3 separate regions of the Homo sapiens genome follow, and regions 1 and 3 are each linked to region 2. The links are contacts of gene promoters, found by promoter capture Hi-C in human tissues and cell types (Jung and others, 2019). All regions are on one chromosome and are shown on one strand. Each heading gives the region's core, a stretch centred on a gene start or on the middle of the fragment in contact. The rest is flanking DNA. Distances are from core to core; before and after follow the strand shown. Region 1 overlaps LOC107987435 (a long non-coding RNA gene). Region 2 holds the start of PRH1 (proline rich protein HaeIII subfamily 1). Region 3 overlaps SMIM10L1 (small integral membrane protein 10 like 1).

Evidence for each region. The method cuts DNA at HindIII sites, captures the fragments that hold promoters and counts their contacts. A contact is called where the count stands out against the background at its distance.
Region 1: a contact is called between a fragment that was not itself captured here and the fragment with the promoter of PRH1 in region 2, in 3 of the 25 tissues and cell types used here (H1 embryonic stem cells, mesenchymal stem cells and spleen).
Region 3: a contact is called between a fragment that was not itself captured here and the fragment with the promoter of PRH1 in region 2, in 1 of the 25 tissues and cell types used here (spleen).

What each region holds. Positions count from the first base shown.
Region 1 is chr12:11,191,491-11,196,017 of GRCh38, reverse strand. The region is part of intron 1 of LOC107987435 (a long non-coding RNA gene); the gene reads right to left. It also overlaps the pseudogene LOC100420583. Among named protein-coding and RNA genes, the nearest start is that of TAS2R42, 6.8 kb to the right of the region's middle. The HindIII fragment of the contact is 3,631 bases long and covers 545-4,175 here.
Region 2 is chr12:10,882,485-10,887,235 of GRCh38, reverse strand. It overlaps PRH1 (proline rich protein HaeIII subfamily 1), which reads left to right and starts at 2,981. Exons shown (of 4, transcript NM_001393989.1): 1 at 2,981-3,082; 2 at 4,140-4,175; 3 at 4,538-4,751. The coding sequence starts at 3,019. PRH1-PRR4 (PRH1-PRR4 readthrough) reads left to right here. Exons shown (of 10, transcript NR_037918.2): 5 at 2,961-3,082; 6 at 4,140-4,175; 7 at 4,538-4,751. The HindIII fragment of the contact is 11,699 bases long and covers 1-4,751 here.
Region 3 is chr12:11,172,165-11,176,827 of GRCh38, reverse strand. It overlaps SMIM10L1 (small integral membrane protein 10 like 1), which reads right to left. Exons shown (of 1, transcript NM_001271592.2): 1 at 812-4,663. Among named protein-coding and RNA genes, the nearest start is that of PRH1-PRR4, 2.9 kb to the right of the region's middle. The HindIII fragment of the contact is 4,439 bases long and covers 1-4,039 here.

The DNA of each region.
Region 1 (4,527 bases), core at 1,111-3,610, 310 kb before region 2:
ACCAGTGAATTTTCAAAGAATTGTCAGAACTGTATTTCAGATAACCATAGGCAGCTTTTAACCTATGGGCAACAAGCAGAAACAAAGGTTTCCTTTCTCCAGTTAGAAGGTAATAAAGTAGTATTCACAGATTTCTGAAGAGAAACAAGTGTAAATCTTATATGTTCAGCCATTTTATCATTGAAGTGTGAGGGTAAAATCAAGTCATTTATGGACAATGCCATGGCTCAGAAATACTGCGACACTTGCATCTTTCCTGAAAAAAATTGAGCCAAGTCAAGATAAAACAACCAATAAAAGGCACAGCATGGCAAATAAGCAGCAGTGGTGAGTGAGCACTCAAACCAGCAAAACTTTTACTTGTTTAAACAATTTTTGTTTATGTGGTTTTGAATTTTATTTAAAAATATAAGTAAATGAATTATATGACTAATAATGTAAAGAACCATCAGCAGTAGTTTGGAAGTAAATTCTAGATGTTTTCAACAAAATCTAAGAGCTAGGAAGAGCTCTGGGAGAAAATAATTTTATAATAAATGAGGTCCTCTTGGAGCAGGAGTATTATAATCAATCTTGTTAAATTTGCTATGTTTACTGAAAATTATGAATTTAATTCGCTTTATAAACACTTCAATGATAACTACTAGTAGATTAGAAATACGGGTAAGAACTTTTTTTTTTTTAACCACTGGAGTGACAAGAAAAGGCAGTATAAAGTCTTGGTCAGCTCAGCAAAGTCAGGAAAGAAAATAAATCGAAAGCAAAATAAACAAGAAAAGACAAAAATAAAATATCAATCATAAGATCAAATGTACTAATCAGTACTACAAATGGTTTAATTCCATTACATCTCTCCCATAAGTGGTCTGTAGCTGGATTTGTATGAAGAAGTCAAATCCAACGATAAACTATTTATAACAACAAAAAAAAGAGATAGGGATATAAGTATCACATACAAGCACACAAAAATAACAGAAGACTGAAAGTTTTAATATCAGACAAACTAATAAGTAAATGAACAACTGCCATGAACAGTTATATGGATATTTGCAAAATATGTGTCTATATATTAAGGCAAACCATACCAAATATACTCTCCAAATTTGATATAAAAATCCATCTAGTTAGCTGCACATAGTGGCTTATGCCTGTAATCCCAGCACTTTAGGAGGCTGAGGCGGGAGGATTGTTTGAGATCAGGACTTTCAGACCAGTCTAGGCAACATAGCAAGACTCTGTTTCTACAAAACATAGAAGAAAATAGCTGGGCATGGTGGTGCGTACCTAAAATCCTAGGTACTCAGGAGGAGGAGGATTGTTTGAGCCCAGGCAGCTGAGGCTGGACTGAGCCATGGTTGTGCCACTGCACTCCAGCCTTGGTGACAGGGCAAGACCCTATCTCAAAACATCTCACAGATGTTTGTACCCATCTGTGTATTTTAGCTTCTGAAAAATGATGATTCATTTTTAAATAGTTAAATAAAAATATATTTCTCAAAATATATAAAGAAAAGAAAAGGAAATTTAGATAAAAACAGAGAGCCATGGTTCTTTTCTGGGCCATATTACATTCATACACACAGCAAATAAATCACGGAAGAGTGGATATATATAAGAAAATTAGTGACAGTGTCCAGTTGCATTTCAGATGACAACAGCACACAATTATTAGCTTCATTCTTTCACATTGTAGCCATTACAAAACTGTTACGTTTAATTAAAGGACTGAAAACTTTTTAATCTTCTAAATGGCTGTAATGCCACCACTTTGAAGTTTTGTTGTGCTAGTTAAATGGCACAATGTATAAAAATGCCTGGCACTGTGCTTTGCACATGCTGAGTGCTCAATAACAGACGCCAATATTATTTTAAAGAGACCTTGCCCTATCTGAATTTTCCAAATAAGTGCTAATAAAGCTTTTGTTTATCACCTAGGCCCAGAGTAGAATTTTATACTCTTGATTCACAGTAAAACAGAATTTAAATTTCATTTATAATTATCAAAACTTGTTAGGATGAGAAAAAGTAAAGCAGATATTATCCTATATAACTGGAATTTTCTTCTACAGTACCTTGGTATTCATTGAAAATAGTTGGATTTCAATAACAGGTATGAGTTGCCTCAATTTTTAAAAATTAACTAAAATTAACTATATGCAAGTTGTATGACTCACTTAGAAAACCAATGTTTGCTTTCTTAAATATGGCTCCTTGAGCCAATAGTAATTAGATCCCCCTTCCTTATGCCTATGAAATAACAAGAAATAAATCAATGGAGACAATCACTTGCCCTCACACCCTAACACATACCCTTAGAGAGAGACCAGAGAAAAGTTAGTTTGGTTCTCATGAACAGAAGCAGATGGAGGTGGAAGGAGCCATGTTCACTAGATATAACATGATTGATGTTAAAAAAAAAATCAGTAGAATGGAACTCTGATATCTAGCTCTACTATGCTCCCCCAAGAGATGATGAAGATCTGAGTCCAAAGCACCCAAGACCTGGTTCTCATGCAACCATTTAACACTGTGTCAGCTTTAAATTACATCTGTCCCAAGAATGGTCCTCAGACCCAGCAGTAGGGCCAGAGATGAATGGAAACCCACCTACATTGTTGAGGATGATCTTCTTTTCTCAGTCAACCAATTTAAATGCTAATCTCTTTCAGACAGCATCACAGACACACCCAGAAATCACGTTTTAAGTTCAGGGGTACAAACACAGATTTGTTTCATAAGTAAGCTTGTGTTGTGGGGGTTTGTTGTACAGATTATTTTATCACCCAGGAATTAAGCCTAGTACCTAATAGTTATTTTTCTGATCCTCTTCATCCTCCCACCCTCCACCCTCCAAGAGGCTTCAGTGTGTGGTGTTCCCCTCTATGAGTCCACGTGTTCTCATAATTTAGCTCCCACTTATAAGTGAGAACAGGCAGTATTTGGTTTTCAGTTTCTGTATTAGTTTGCTAAAGATAATGGCCTCCAGCTCCATCCGTATCCCTGAAAAGGACATGATCTTATTCTTTTTTATGGCTGCATAGTATTTCATGGTGTATATGTACCACATTTTCCTTACCAGTCTATCATTGATGGGCATTTGGGTTGATTCCATGTCTTTGCTATTATGAACAGTACTGCAATGAACATTTGCATGTATGTGTCTTTATAACAGAATGATTTATATTCCTCTGGGTATATACCCAGTAATGGGATTGCTGGGTCGAATGGTAGTTCTGGCTTTAGATCTTTGAGGAACTGCCACATTTTCTTCCACAATGGCTGAACTACTTTACATTCCCACCAATAGGGTATAAGCACTTCTTTTTCTCCACAACCTCACTGGCATTTGTTATTTTTCGACTTTTTAATAATAGTCATTCTGACTGGTGTGCAATGATATCTCATTGTGGTTTTGATTAATTTTTCTTGAATGATCAGGGATATTGAGCTTCTTTTCATATGCTCATTGGTTGTCATGCATTTTCTTAAGTTAATATATGCACAAATGCAAGTCAATCATTTTATCCAGAGCCAGGCATATAGTAAGAGTTCTAGAAATGATACCTTTTATTATTGTTGTTGTTACTATTGTTTTTTATAATTAGTAAAATACATGGCTGCTATGGTTTGAATATGTCCCCCAAAGTTCATGTGTTAGAAGCTTGATCCCCAGTGTGGAGGTTTTTGGAGGTGGAAACTTTAAGAAGTGTTTAGGTCATGAAGGCACAACCCTCATAAATGGCTTAACACAATTATTGAGTAGTGGGTTTGTTATTACAGGAGCTGATTCCTTATACAAGGACAAGTTAAGCCCCATTCTCGTTCTCTCTCTCTCTTTTTGCCCTTCTCCCATAAGATGACACAGTAAGAAATCCCTTACCACATGCTGGCACCTTTATATTGGACTTCCCAGACTCCAGAATTGAGGAATAAATTTCTTTCTTTATAATTTTCCCAGTTTGTGGTATTTTGTTAGAGCAGCACAAAGCAGGCTAAGACAGGAAATTGGTATGGGAGGAGCAGGCTAGAAAAAGCCTAGATTGCCACAAATTTTGTATTAAGAGTGATTCCACTGAGGTCTCAGGCGAGGATAACTGTAGGGAAAGTCTGCAACTTCTTAGAGATTACTTTTATGGTCCTGATGAGAATGTTGGTAGACATATAGAGAGTAAACGCCATTCTGATGAGGTCTCAGGTGGAAAAGAGAAATGTCTTATTGGAAACTGGAGTAAGGATCATCCTTGTTATGAAGTGGCAAAAAAACTTGGCAGAATTCTGTTCATGCCCTTTGGCTTTATGGAAGGCAGAATTTAAGAGAGGTGAACTACGATATCTGATGGAAGAGACATCTCAGCAGCAAAACATTCAGTGGGCTCCATGGCTTCTTTCAAGCACATATAGTAAAATGTTGAGGAGAGAGAAATGATTTAAAGATGGAATTTATAATGAAAAGTGAAGACTAATAGAAAAATTTGGAGAACTCTCAGCCTGGCCATATAAAGAATAAAAAAGCATGTTCGAGAGAGA
Region 2 (4,751 bases), core at 1,732-4,231:
CAATGTTCATCTTTCCTGGCAAACCATCTTTAGTGTTCCAGGCAAACTAGAGCATGGTGAAGTCGAAGAAGATTCTACTTTCTGTTCCATTCAGAGAGCTTCCTGGTTTTCAAAAAAGAGTGAGGCATGTGGGTGTGAAAGAGCTGAGGCATGAAATTTGGATCTTATCACAAGTGCAGAAGAAAAAACAGGAGATTTGAAGCACAAATGTGATATAACCTAATTTCTACTTTTAAATGATCACTCTGATTGTTGTGAGGGAACTGATATGGGATGAGCTGGGGGAAGAACATTACCAAGACCAGCTGGAGGCTGGTAAAGTCCTCCAGGAGAGAGCATCATGGCTGAACAATCACCTTCTAGTAAAGATCAGGCAAGTGGTCATATTTGGGACGTATTTTGAAAGTGGAGGCAATTAGATCGGCTAATGCATAAGTTCCTGGAGGGAGCGAGGATTTTTGAACCACTAGGTAAACACCTGTCAGTGACCGAGAAAATGTTGGGATGTGTTATGAGAGATGAATCCTAAAATTTCATATGTTGAAGACTGGCCCTTCAGGGCCTCAGAATATGAACATCTATAGTAGAAGGCAAGTGTGGTGCTGAGGGCTGCCACCCACCTCTAGGTACCCAAGCTCCTGCAGCAGTCCTGCGTCTCCCTTTCACCCACCTTCACTCACAGACAGTGTCCCTTTCAGCTCTTCCATTACCTCTGTTTTTGATGTGTCTAGTGAGAGCATAGCTGATATTTATGCTTTCCTGATACACTAGTCTCTCGCTGATTGCTGACATTGGAGCAGGTTAGGGAGCAGGCCTGAGCTGAGTGACCTTTAGGAGGATTTCCTGTTCTTTTCCTGTACTCTGCTGCCAAGGAGAAACCTGTCTTGCACCAGGCCTGCAGCTTCCTCAGTCCCCCACATCATCAGGCAATATCTGCCTGGCACTCCTCTTTGTTCCTTTTCTCTGACCTTCCTTTTTGACATGATGGTTGACCTGAAGTCACCGAGGCAGGACTGCTCATCTCCAGGTCCTATGGGAAACAGTACCTGGTGAAACCAGAGACAATAATCTCCATAACGCATTGGGAGCTGCTGGGCTCAAGCAACTACTCTGTGCCTGAGATACAACTCATACGGCCCAGCTAGAGCTGATCTACTTCCCACAGGGCCAGAGAAGAATTGCCAATTAAGAATGCATTCCCCCCTGAAATAGGTCTATATTTATTCCAGGGAAAATACCAATCTGCCTGGGTCCCTTACAAGAACAATGTCGTCTGTAGCAAAATCTAATCTACTAGGAAGCCTTCTTGTATTATTATCTGCAACTTTTCAGAAGAGCCATACCAGACCCTCATATGCCCAGCACAGGATCCACTCATGCACACCTGTCTAGGGCCTTGTCTTTATGATTTTCTGTCACCTGGCTTCTCAGCCATGCCTCCAACCAAGCTATCCTCAAATAAAGACTAACCATGCACAAAAAGTGAAAAATTACACAAGACCTACTCAAGGTCTGAAATGGAAAGTGCAGCTGGTGATTCTGAGTAGTATATTTTATGAATTGATGAGCAGGGAATTTCTAGGTATCACAGAGCAATCAGCAGCTGAGGAGAGAGCGACAAAACCAGGACTCTGACAGGGCTTTTTGGAAACTTAATTTTTGGAGCAATCAGCAGCTGAGGAGAGAGCTACCAAACCAGGACCCTGACAGGGCTTTTTGGAAACTTAATTTTTTATTGTCAAATTATACAGACAAAAATGAAAGTAAAGGTAGTGAGGAGTACCACACACCTTTACTTAGAAGGATAAATAAAGGACACCTTTGTAGGGAGAAAAAAAAAGATATAGGACGAAAAGTAAACATGGCAAGGTAGACTCAGAATACAAAATTTCAACAAATAAGTGCGAGAAAAAGAATGAGAAAGAATGAGTATTGGAATATTACAGATAAAAATCCTTGGTGAGAAAGAACACTCTGATGAAACAGGTGACATAATTACTGAGTAAAAGCAGAAGACCAATCAAGGCAATTGAGGCTTGGACAGGTATTACAAATTATCTTAGATGAATGTATAATTGTGGCCATTTAATTATCAGTGATGACAATTACAATATTTATTAGAAGAAATAAAGTAGAGGATGAATTCTATGGAATATTCTGGAGAAAGTGGAGGTCTTAGCTATATGACATCGTGTGGCTCACTTAGGGAACCATATATTCAGTTTGTTCAGGTCTAGAAATTCCTTGGTGGTTTCTGAGTTCAGTTTTGCTTTAATAAACCCTAAAGATATTTTTAAAATACAAATATTTTAGCTTGCCTGTGTTGTATAGCACCAAGGCTTGCCTGAGTGTAGTGAGATTCACAGAAGTTTGGACAATTCTTGTAGCCTGAGCAGGCTGCCAGCACCTTTCTCTCATATATGTGTGCCTGGGAGTGTGCTGTCCTCACACATCTCACAGATAAGCAAGACCATCTCTGTTACATGAAAAATTTAGCTAAATGTGAAAATATCCACGCACACACATCATGAGAGATGGAAAGAGGCTATCAAAACAGTCAGAGATATTGACCATCTTCACTGTTAGCTGTAGGATCAGTGTCCACCCCCCGACACACCCACACAAACTCACATACACAGAAATGAAAAGCACAGTGAAAAGCAGAATAGCAGTCTTTCCAAACAGATTGAAAACCAAAAGATGTCTAAAGTTCAATCCTGACACTGTGCCGACTGCTTGGACACAGTTCCGTCAAAACATTTGTCCAAGTCATAGTTGTGCCTTTTAGGAATTAGACACAAACAATATCCTACCCAACCCTTCCTGCTGAGCTAGAGTCCCAAAAGAAATGAGGGATACACTTGACCTGAAGTAAGCAAAGCAGAAGCCAGTCTCTGAGGCGAGGAGGCCCACCTGGTAGGGAGCTCAAATGCACCATTGTCCTGCTTGTCTTTATAAAGGGAGCTGACACGTTTCTCCCAGCACAAAGTTGGGAGTGACACCAGAGCCTCCTGCAAGATGCTTCTGATTCTGCTGTCAGTGGCCCTGCTGGCCTTCAGCTCAGCTCAGGATTTAAATGAAGGTAAGATGAATTGGGGGAAGATATTGTGACTCTGATTGGGGTTTACAGGCAAATGCTATAGAGGAGGAAAGTGGAGGGAAGAGAGGAGGATGAGAAAACAGATGGGACTGCAGAGTTCTCATGCTGAGGATCAGAAGATCTATTGTACCTCCATTCCTCATCAAGGCCTCATAGTTTATTTGTTGCACAAATAGAATCCAATAAAGAATTCGTACTAGGGGTGTGAGAGAGTGAGATTTGCATTATATAGAGACATGGGACTGCTGTGAAGGATGTGGAGAATGCAAGACAGATTCAGGGAAGTACAGCTGTGAAGATCCTGTACTGATCCCAGTAGACAGGGATGATGGTGGCCTTGCTGTACAGTGGATGAGCATTAATGAAGGAGATAAACACATGTCAGAGCTACTGCCGAGGCAGAGAATTGGGTAAACACTTGTCTCTGTCTACATAGAGTTAGAGAATAACCAGAGTGAAACATTGTCATTTTTCTGTCTCCTGAATGTAGTATTTCAATGTGCTGGGAATGGCATGCGTAAGATTATATCCAAGTGGCTATGTCTGGTGGCTCCTGTTGAGAAGGCTTGCAAACATAAACAACATATTTACAGATGAAAGAGGGCAGAAGAATCCCCAAATATGTCATTGAAATACTCAGAGCAGTTTAACTAAATAAGCGCTAAGGGTTTACAGGCAAATGCTATAGAGGAGGAAAGTGGAGGGAAGAGAGGAGGATGAGAAAACAGATGGGACTGCAGAATTTTCATGCCGAGGATCAGAAGACCTATTGTATCTTCATTCCTCATCAAGGCTTGGGGAATCAAAAGAGGACAAACAGGGGCCCTTCTATGTTGAGTTCCTGGTTGACGCTCAGTGTAGTAACAATACTGCTTTCCCTTACATCTTCTTCCACTTCCAGTAGCATCAGAGAGTGGCTGATGAGATCACAAAGGGGATGCACAGGGTGTGATCAGAGGTCCTTTATCCTCGTAGAACACTATGAGCCTTGAATGATTCAGGAAGTAACTTTTCCCATCATCCTGTACTTCTTTTCTAGATGTCAGCCAGGAAGATGTTCCCCTCGTAATATCAGGTAAATCCCAATAAATTCTCAGTAAACTCTGTCTCCATTTTTCCCTGAAAAATTGATGAGTTCTCCAGTGTCTTCTTATCACCATTTTCTTGTCAGGAATTGGCTAATACCAATGCCCCAAAGATACAAACAGTTTTCTCCCAACCTTGATTCTGGGGACCATGAGTAAAGAAATTCAATTTTTCATCACCCTTATGTGGATTAAGAGGAGTTCTAATTAGGAAGCCTTGGGAAGGGGGGAGGTTGGGAGTTGAGAGGCAGGTCAGGCAGAGAGGGGCCGGCCGTGTGGTGAAGACAGAGAGGTATGAAGACAGGAGGGTTTTCCAGCATGAGCTCAGCTCTTCTTGTTTCAACTCACACAGATGGAGGAGACTCTGAGCAGTTCCTAGATGAGGAGCGTCAGGGACCACCTTTGGGAGGACAGCAATCTCAACCCTCTGCTGGTGATGGGAACCAGGATGATGGCCCTCAGCAGGGACCACCCCAACAAGGAGGCCAGCAGCAACAAGGTCCACCACCTCCTCAGGGAAAGCCACAAGGACCACCCCAACAAGGAGGCCAGCAGCAACAAGGTCC
Region 3 (4,663 bases), core at 571-3,070, 290 kb before region 2:
ATAAATGAATCAGTTCTGGAAATAAGTTAGCTTCCCTTTTATATAGATATAACCTGGCCCCTGAACTTTGAAGCTTCTATTATTTTCCTTTTAGACTTCAGTTTGAGATACTTTCACAGTTTTCAAAAACCAATTAAAAAGTGAAAATGATCTCTTGAACAACAGTTCTTTTTTTAAGCATCTCGTATTTTTGGCTTTTTGTTTTTTTGAGACAGGGTCTTGCTCTGCAGCCCTGGCTGGAGTGCAGTGGCATGATCACAGCTGTTTTCTTTTTTTTTTTAATCTGCTGAACATAATCTCTAATTCTCTGCCAATGATCTTAGTTACAGTATTTCATTATTTGGTGGTGTGATTTTTTTCTCCCTCTTTTTGGCTGATGAAAAGTTGTACCCAACTTCCCTCACTAATAATATGAATGATCTCCATTTCTCTTTATTGTTCATTGATGCATGCCACTATTTTACAGTGGCTAAGTCCATATGCTTGGTGTTGAAAGCCATGGAGATGGTGAAGATTTTGTAATGTTCATTGCAGATCCCTAATCAGGATAGAAACTGGCAGGGATGTCCTGCAATTAAGCTACTAAGACTTCCATAGTTTCTTCATTTGTAGTAGGCTTTTGGGAAGGTCCTTGGGCCTTTTAGTTGTCCCAAGAGCACTGCTGAAATTTGTATTTGTGGAGAGTAGGGGTAAGGGGAGGTTTACTTATATTTTGAAAAGATCTCATGACTTGACCTGGTGGTAATCCTGCTGAGCAAATCCTATTAAGTCTAGTTTGTTCAGGCTGCTATAAAAAATACCATAAAATGGGTGCTTATGAACAACAGAAATTTATTTCTTATAGTTCTAGAAGCTGGGAAGTCCAAGATCCAGGCATTCACAAATTTGGTATCTGGTGAGGGTTCATTTCCTTGTTCATAGATGACTTTTCCCTATAACCTTACATGGCAAAAGGGGTAAGGGAATTATTTTGGGGTCTCCTTTATAAAGGCACTAATCCCATTCACGAGGGTTTCATCTTTATGACCTGATCACCTCCCAAAGGTCCCATCTCCTGAGATCATCACTTTGGGGGTTAAATGCCAACATGTGAATTTTTGGGGGGCACATTCAGACCATAGTACAAGTGTTAAAACTGCAAGAAGAATCCCCACACTCAAGGTAACCCAAGTAATAGACTAATATGAATCAATCCAACCCAATTGTTGGGAATTCTCATAGTTCTTGCAGAGGTTCTTTTCTTGGTTCATTTTCTTGGAACTTCCCAAGTCGTCTTTAGACTACTTTCCATGCTCAAACTTCCAAGTATTAGGATATTCCTTTCCCTCATCTTTTGTCCCTATATTCCTCAACTTTCATCCTACCCCTTTATGCTTCTGCATGTAACTTTATTTTCTTCTTGACGCTATCAAAAGCTATTGATGTCCTGCCAGAAAGATCTCCCATTAAAAGCAAACTGCAAGATTTTCTAACAAAATTTAGTTAGGGATCCTCAGGACAGGAACAGACATGGCTTCAAAATTTAACATTGTCTGATCTCTACTCTGGGTAGCACAGGAAAGTGTTTCCCTTCCATTCTGAGGACAACGTTCTTTCCTCTCTCTCCCTTTGCTCCCATATCCCTCAATCCCACCAACCCTCTAATAAAATAAGCCAATAGGTTTAAGGCTGCAGAGAGTATAAAATACTTGAACTTACATATCAAATCATGTTAAATATTTATATTTTAGTATGAAAGACCCTCAATAGTTATGTTAAAAAAAATAACTATTACCCAGGTAATATTTCTGTCCAGAAATTTGAGAAACAGAATTATTTGTAATTATCTACACATTTAAGAAAATTGAACTCCTTATGAAATATAACTTTAGGAATTACTGGAGATTCATTTGAGGTCTGGTTGGTTATCATGACCTTAGGAATTTACTTAACCTCTCTAAATCCCGGTTTGCTTCTCTGAAAAATGATAAAAATGTTTTCCTCACAGGGTATATGTGAGAATTACGGAGCTCATGTATATAAATAGTTTTTCATAGTTCCTGGTATTAAAAACTCAATATATTTTAAAAATGATGCTGATGGTAATGATATGCTATTTGTCAAGTAATCACATGTATTTTTACCCAGAATTAAAAAAAAAAAAACAACTTTTCCCCTATCCCTTAGGTTACATATGTTGCTATGTTCACTGTTTTCCTTTTATAGTTAAAATAAGCTGTAACGCATCGTTTCCCATTTTTTTTTTTGCCAGCTACATTTCTTATCTCTATTGATAATAACTATACCACCTATGTCTCTGCTTTTTCATGCTTGAGGGATCTCTGGATCAATCAACGTGCATGATGGCCTGAAAAAGCCCAATTTATGGGCAATAAAGTGAATCATCTTATTATCAGGAACGAATATATGTTTCCTTTATTGACTGCTGACTATGTAGAGCATACCAACAAAATTGCCATTCATCTATCCATTCAACAATATTTATTAGCTATTCCGCACTGGGCAGTGCTCTAGGCTTGGGGATAGAACAGTGAACAAACAAAATCCTTAGCCTAATGGATATTACCTGGAAGTGTGCCAGGAAGAATAAACTCACTTGTGAATTACAACAATAAGTGGTTTATTCAGGTCAAAATCTTGTTTTGTCTCCTGGGAATTTCACTGAATTGCATCATGTAGGAGGCAAACTATACCCCAAGAATTAAGAGCAATTGTGAATAAATGATAAACCACAGAGTTTACATTTACCTCCTAATACATTTAACTCCTAATATATATATATACATATATTACGAGGTAAATGTAAGCTGTAACTTTATGCATATATTGTAAGTAGTAACTATACATATATACTTATATACTGTATACATATATAGTAAGTAGTAACTATACATATATACATATATAGTTACTACTTAAATTTATATATGTGTATGTATATATATATGTATATATACAGTACACACACATACTGTTACTACCGGGTGTAAAATTGAATAGGATATAGTGTCTTCCCTCACAGAGCTGCCAATTATGTTGGAGGATGTAATAAATACAAAGTCTGTTTCTTCATCTTCGGTTTAACAAATGACTGATGTGAGGAAAAAAGTTATAGGAATATGTTCACATAGTCACCCAAATGGAGCATCCTACTCTGTCACCATTTCAGGATTAAGACTAGACAGTCTTTTGTGTTACAAATTGGGACATCAGTGCTCTGGGAAACAGTGATGTCCACGATTCTAAATCCCTTGGTATTACTATTTCATTGATTAAACTACACTTCTGATATTTTAGACTAAAATGTTTTGGCTTATCGCAGTCTAGGAAACCTGTCTTGGGTATATAAAACAGACAGTTGATGCACGATTAGGGAAAAATAAGGCAACCTATGAAAATGGCCTTATGGATTAAAAGAAGTGAGCTCCTATATGGTCAGTGGAATCCAGGAAAAATTTAATGGAAAAAGCGCCACCTAAGCTTAGCTTTAAAACACAGAGTATCTTCAGGTAGAAAAGGCTATAGGAGAATGTGCCCAAATGGAGTTTGGCTGGAGACAAAGAATAAAGACTAGAAAGAACAATTACCCTAGGCCAGACATGGTGTTGGACGGGGCAAGATGCTTACTACTTAAAGCCATAGAACACTGTTTGCTGGACACAATGAGTGGAATATAGAACAATGCAACTATTTTAACACTTTACCCCTCTTAGTGGTTTATTAGTTAATTTTTTCCTGAAAAAAAAAATGCGTATACTACTTTTTCTGCACTTTTCTATATCAGATCTTGATTTAAAACTTTACCACTCTTGGTGATTTATTATTAGTTTTTTTAATCCGAAGAAAACATGTGTATACTCCTTTTTCTGCATTTTTCTATATCAGATCTTGATTGGCTCACCACCATTACACACACACACATCTCTTTTCTCCCATCCTCCCAGCGTTATAGAATCATTTGTTGTAAAATCAGTATTCAGTATTTACATAATTATGACTGACTTTACATGACTACTATTATTCACAGTTGAGGTATACCGTGTATACAGTGTAGTTTTTAAATTTTTATTTTTCTCAGCGTTCAAAATTATATGTTCTGTTTTCTTAATTTTGAAAAATATGCATTCACTAATTTATCCCCACACTCTTTGGAAAATGAAAGCTCTCTAGGCTGTATTCAAATACACCAGGTACTCTATCAATTTTCATTTTTTAAACTATTCTACCTGAGCTCTCCATCTTTAGCCATTTCCTGTTGACTTCATACTGTTCTCCCCTACCACTCTCCCTCTTTAATATATTACCGTTTTAGAAACTTTATGGCTACCCTGTAAGTAATAAAAATGTCTTTCCCCACTCAACAACAGACAGTACCTTTCAAGTTTCCACTTTATAAGGACATAACCCCCATTCCATTTACTTCCCCCGCCCTCCTTCAACATTCCCACTTGTATTTTCCGGCTGTATTTTTAAAACATGGTAAATAACATTTGCACTCCACTTTGTAACCATAATTAAGTATGCCCTTAAACAATAAAAACCATAAACAACATTTGTATTTTACGATTATTTAAATGTTATTCACTGAACAGCCAAGCTTTGTGCTACTATGGGATTTCGTTTTCTGCGGTTCCAAGTCTTGATCCACGTCCTGCCACAGGAT